Regions from separate parts of the Homo sapiens genome. Here region 1 is linked to region 2. The links are contacts of gene promoters, found by promoter capture Hi-C in blood cells and fetal thymus (Javierre and others, 2016). All regions are on one chromosome and are shown on one strand. The core of a region is centred on a gene start or on the middle of the fragment in contact, and the rest is flanking DNA. Distances in the headings are between cores, read along the strand shown. Region 1 has its middle 70 kb from the start of LINC02540. Region 2 holds the start of HTR1B (5-hydroxytryptamine receptor 1B).

Evidence for each region. The method cuts DNA at HindIII sites, captures the fragments that hold promoters and counts their contacts. A CHiCAGO score of 5 or more calls a contact.
Region 1: a contact is called between a fragment that was not itself captured here and the fragment with the promoter of HTR1B in region 2, in 1 of 17 cell types (endothelial precursors). The highest score is 5.2, in endothelial precursors.

What each region holds. Positions count from the first base shown.
Region 1 is chr6:76,662,020-76,664,719 of GRCh38, forward strand. It overlaps the pseudogene LOC100131680. Among named protein-coding and RNA genes, the nearest start is that of LINC02540, 70 kb to the left of the region's middle. The HindIII fragment of the contact is 484 bases long and covers 1,086-1,569 here.
Region 2 is chr6:77,462,074-77,464,773 of GRCh38, forward strand. It overlaps HTR1B (5-hydroxytryptamine receptor 1B), which reads right to left and starts at 1,418. Exons shown (of 1, transcript NM_000863.3): 1 at 1-1,418. The coding sequence starts at 1,330. The coding sequence ends at 158. The region is part of intron 5 of LOC105377864; the gene reads left to right. RefSeq lists a silencer at 284-428. The HindIII fragment of the contact is 3,027 bases long and covers 1-1,802 here.

The DNA.
Region 1 (2,700 bases), core at 78-2,577, 800 kb before region 2:
TTCCTGAAGAGTGAAGAAAGGGGTAAAGAACTGAAGGAAATTTGCCATTCTCCATGGACAAGAGGGCAGGATGCTTTTGAAATTTTAGTGGACCTTGTGAAAGCACTTATTTTATGTTGGCATGGTACAAATAGTGACACAAATATCAGATGCAATAATCGTATAGCTGCCCAAGCATTTGTACCCTGAAGTACAGTAACAGATTTTGATTTAATTGTTACCATTGTTGTTCTTTAAAATGTCCTATTTTTTTTTTTTTTTTTTTTTTTTTACAAGAGACTTTTGGAAAAATCTCTAGGGGCAAACCTCTGAGGTCTTGTCTGCAGCCAGTAGCTTGACTGCAATACTGCAGTCACTCAGTAAAGTGACAGAAAAAATTGAAGTTTATAATGAGTTTTGGTTTGAGGAAGCCACAATATGACAATCCAACTTGATGTTCAAATGAAATTCCCTGGGAAATTCCACAGAGCTCAGCAAGGTAACCTGAAATTCCAACTACCCTATGAGAGTTTTTATAAAGAAAACCTGTGTTCAACAGTGGAGCACATTATTCAGGAACTTAAAGACAGATTTTCAGAACAGCACCTCAAAGCTCTTAAGTGCTTATCTCTGGTACCCTCAGTCATAGGTCAGCTCAAATTTTACACATTAGAGGAACACTATACTGGCATGTATAGAAGTGACTTACCCCATCCCAGTGTGCTCTCAGCCAAACTGCATTGTTGGGGAATCAAATGGAAAGACAGAGGGAAGAGTGTAGAGCTTCCATCCACCATTTATGAAACTCTCCACTTGACTAAATCAAGTTTTTTACTAATGTGTATGCATTGCTGAAGGTCCTGTGTATCCTTCCTGTGATAAAAGTTGAGAATTTTTATCAACATAAAATGAAAATGGACAAAAGCATCTCAAAACATACTTGAGGAACCCTTTGACAGACCAAAGATTGAGTAACTTGGCTTTGCTTAACATAAATTTTGATCTAAAGCATGATCTGGATTTAATGGTGGACACATATATCAAACATTATCCAATTAAGTCAGAATTCCCCACAGATAATTCAGAAATCATTACAAATACTGAAAAGCTTCTCTAAACGGGCTTTATCTTACATTTGATATTTGGAAGAAAAGCTGTAAGTTGTATGCAGGTCACTCAATCACTGACTATCTCTGCTGATAGGCCTCCCATTGAATACATTAATTACTGATAATCTTACTATTTAAATGGCTCCTGCTTGAAATCTGATGCTTTGAGGACCTATTTTTTTCTTCCAGAAGCTAGCATTGAAAACACCCTGTTTTATGTCTGCATTATCTCTGCTACTGGCACTCTGGAATTGTTCTAGTTAAGTCATTTTGGGTATAACATTTATTATCATTTTGGATTTGATTCTTGGATATTGAGTTATCAATTCTTTGAAGAAATATATTTTGGGGAAGTGTGGGAGTAAGGATTACATCTTATAATATGTTACAATAAACCTCATAATTGACCTTTGACTAATAAGGATTTCAGGTATGTTGTTAAAAATCTGTAATTGACAGTTAAAGAATTACCAGAGTGAGAAGCTTGTGAGATCAAGAAACAAGGATTTTAGTGCAGGTTTTATCTTTAGTAAATGAACTTAAGGGAACAAGTTACAGTTAAAGTTGAATGGAAAAGCCTGCCGTTGTTGTTCCACATTTGGTTGTTACTGTTTATATTTCTTTGTTGAACCTACATCTTCATATGCTTTTTAGCAGGTGTATGTATAACACTTTCATTTATGGTCAAGGCAGAATCAGAGGCCGTGAATACTGACAACTGACTTGTCTGTTTTCTTCTGTCTTTTTCCATGACTATATCTTCTGCCTCATCTTGATTTATAAGCAAAAGCTGGAAAACTACAAAAATAAGTGTTTTTTATTTTATCTAGAAATATTATAGAAAATATTGCTATTTTTGAAGAAAATCAATTTTGTATAATTTATTTTAATCTAAATGTAAATTTTGTTTAAAAAGTATTCTGTATATTGTTTTTTATTATATGTATGTATTTAGCAAGTGATATTTCATTTATTTCACCAAATAGGTTCAATTAAATTAAACTCTTTTCTTCCTATTTAAAAAATTGCAAGTGGGAAATGTCACACACACACACACACACACACACACACACAGAGAGCTCGAGCGAGCGGCAAGCTTTATGCTTATGAATTTTTTGTTAAACAAGCCCATCAGGAATTTCCTTGGCAGTGCTTTGGCACATTATCTTCCCTACCCACTTATGAAAATCATCTATAAATACATCTATAACTGCATTGCTGATTCAGAAAGAAGTCAAATAAATCCTCAAAAGGGAAGCATATAGTGAAGATCATTAATCTAGAGTTGGGTGAGCAAGATTCAAGTCCCTGACTGTTCTAGGGAACTCCATTTATCCATGGTTTGTTCCATGAGCTTCATTTATATGGCTGCATAGGACTATAGAGTCAAAAGACAAAGCCTAGGTCCTGCTATGTCAGAAGTTTAACAAGAGAACCTCTGCATAAAGTCAGACCAGCGATGGTTACACCATCTGTAAAATAATCAACAAGGAGTAATTACTCCTTTTTTTTCCTTTTTCTTTTTCTTTTTTTTTTTGAGACGGAGTCTCGCTCTGCCTTCCAGGCTGGAGTGCAGTGGCGCGATCTTGGCTCACTGCAAGCTCTGCTTCCC
Region 2 (2,700 bases), core at 168-2,667:
CAGGACTATTCTGGCTTCTCAGGATCCATTGCCCTTGCCCAGGAGAGAGAGCCTCGCTGGGACCCAGAAACCGCGAAAGAAGATTCGACCTACCTGTGGAACCAGACACAACTTGGTCCCCAAAGGTCGCTTAGGCGACCCCACTGCAAACGGCAAGTCAACTTGTGCACTTAAAACGTATCAGTTTATGGAATGCTTGTTTAAAGTCCTCATTGGACATGGTATAGATTATGGGGTTGATGAGGGAGTTGAGATAGCCCAGCCATGTGAAGAAGTCAAAGATGGCTAGGTGGAACCAGCAGGCATCTTTGCAGATAGGCATCACTAGGGAGATGATGAAGAAGGGTAGCCAACACACAATAAAGGCTCCCAAAATGATCCCTAGGGTCTTGGTGGCTTTGCGCTCCCTAGCGGCCATGAGTTTCTTCTTTTCCAGCAGGGCGTCGGAGACTCGCACTTTGACTTGGTTCACATACACAGGAGATCCGGATTCGCTGGGCACGTCGGGAACCCGCGAGTTAATAGAGGTGACCGAGGACGTGGACCCGGGGGAGTCGGTTATCAGCTGGGCTCGGGTCAAGCGCTTGCCGGTCCTGTTGGGCGTCTGTTTCAAAATCCGGGAGCGGGCTTCTACGTAGATGCGGCCATAGAGGGCGATGAGGAGCAGGGTGGGGAAGTAGAAAGCACCCACCGTGGAGTAGACCGTGTAGAGGATGTGGTCGGTGTTCACCACGCATTCCGACACCTCCTCTTCGGCCTTAGCCTGACGCCAGAAGAAGGGCGGCAGCGAGATAGAGATGGAGAAGACCCACACCAGCGCGATCATGACCGCCGCCCTCTTGGGAGTCCTTTTAGCTGAGTACTCCACGGCGTCCGTGATGGCCCAGTAGCGGTCCAGGGCGATGACACAGAGGTGCAGGATGGAGGCAGTGCAACAAGTGATGTCCGACGACAGCCAGAAGTCACAGACCACCTGGCCCAGTGTCCAGCGGCCGGTGACAGTGTACATGGTGCTGATGGGCATCACCAGGATGGACACAAGCAGGTCGGTGACCGCCAGAGAGGCGATCAGGTAGTTAGCCGGGGTGTGCAGTTTCCGGGTCCGGTACACTGTGGCAATCACAAAGGCATTGGAGAGCGTGGTGGCCAAGGTGATGAGCGCCAATAGCATAACCAGCAGTACTTTCCAGGGTAGGGAGATGGAGTCCTGGTAAATGTAGTCCTTGGCGCTGCAGTTTTGGGAGGGAGCAGAGGATAAGTTGGCTTGAGGAACCCAGGTCTCGGAGCCCGCGGGCGGCGGTGGAGCGCACTGAGCACCCGGTTCCTCCATGGCTCTCCTCGCCCCAGCTCCGGAGCGCAGCTCTTGGGCATGGAGCGGACGAAGGAGAGGGCGGAAGGACCGTGGCGATCGCAGGTTTGTCCCCAGTTGATAGTTCCGTGAGTTCCTCAATTATTCCTCCGCCCAGGTTCACAGCTGAAACTAGAGGTCATGGGTGCGGCAGCCAAGGCAGGCGGGCGCCTCCCCTGCACTTCCAGAGCGCCTAGCTAAGCCGCCGCGTCTGTGGTTGTTCCTCTCCACACCGGGTCTTAGACCTGGGTTGCTAAGAGCTGGCCCACCGAGCCCTGCTCCGCTCCAGCTCCCTGGAGGCGTCTAGTGCAGGAGGGTGAAGTACTGCTTGAGGAGAAGGCTTTGACCAAATGGGATCTCTTACCCCAGTTGCTTGAGGCTGAGCGTCTCCTAACCTGGACGCTTTTGGATCTGCAGACTTTGCCCACAGGAGTTTCCTAGGTGTAGAGACCAAAGCTTGCAGGCCAGCGAGAGGTCCCGAGATCTTGCATTCCCACCCCTCGCCCCAAGCTGGGGCACTTTTGGGGGGCTGCAGCGGCCGCCAGAGCTGGGTGGGGTGAAGTCTAGGAGCAGCGCTGCGCCGCGCCTCGCGCCGGAGCTCTGCCCTCCCTCTCTTTTCACTCTCTGGCCACTCGGACGAGCTGCCCCGCGGAGACGGAGCCATAAAAGGGGGGACACGGGGGCTGGAGTTGCGGCTGCTCGGGCCGCGCCGCCGCCACCGCCACCCTGGTCCCACGGGAGCCACTCGGAGCCATGCCACTGGGTGCGCGGGTCTGGAGGACCTGGCGCGGCACACTGGGAAGGGGCAGGTGTCTGGGGGAGCTGGAGGGACGCGGCGTGCACCAGCCCGGGAGAAGCGTGCGAGCTACGGAGCAGATGGGCTCTTTATATAGAGTCCAGGTCCGGTCCGCCAGAGCAGTGCAACTCGTGCGGCGCGGCGGGTGCGGACGCCCGCTCCCCATCACCTTCCCTTTTTCTCTCTCCCTCCCTCTTTTCCCCCCGCCCTGTTCCTTTCCTGGCCAAGGAAGCTCCCGCCGGGTCCTACCGCCCTATCTCCCCGCTTCCCACCCTGGGCCATCCTCCCAGCCCTGACAACCTGGAGCTGCATTTCTGGTCAGGGGAAGAAGGCGTCCTGTTCTCGCCTCTACGGACATCAGAGCTTGCTGCGCTGACCTCCAGTGAGACCCATGTCCTTAGCCATGGTCACAGGTTTAGTCCAGCAGTCTGGCCCTAGGCTCCTGCCTACCACTCCCACCCTAGGAGGCCAGTGTTAGGCGGGGAAGCCCTGGTCTCTGACCTCTCCGCTCTAAAATCATATCCAGCCCTGATGGCCACACCCAGGTTAGGAGGCA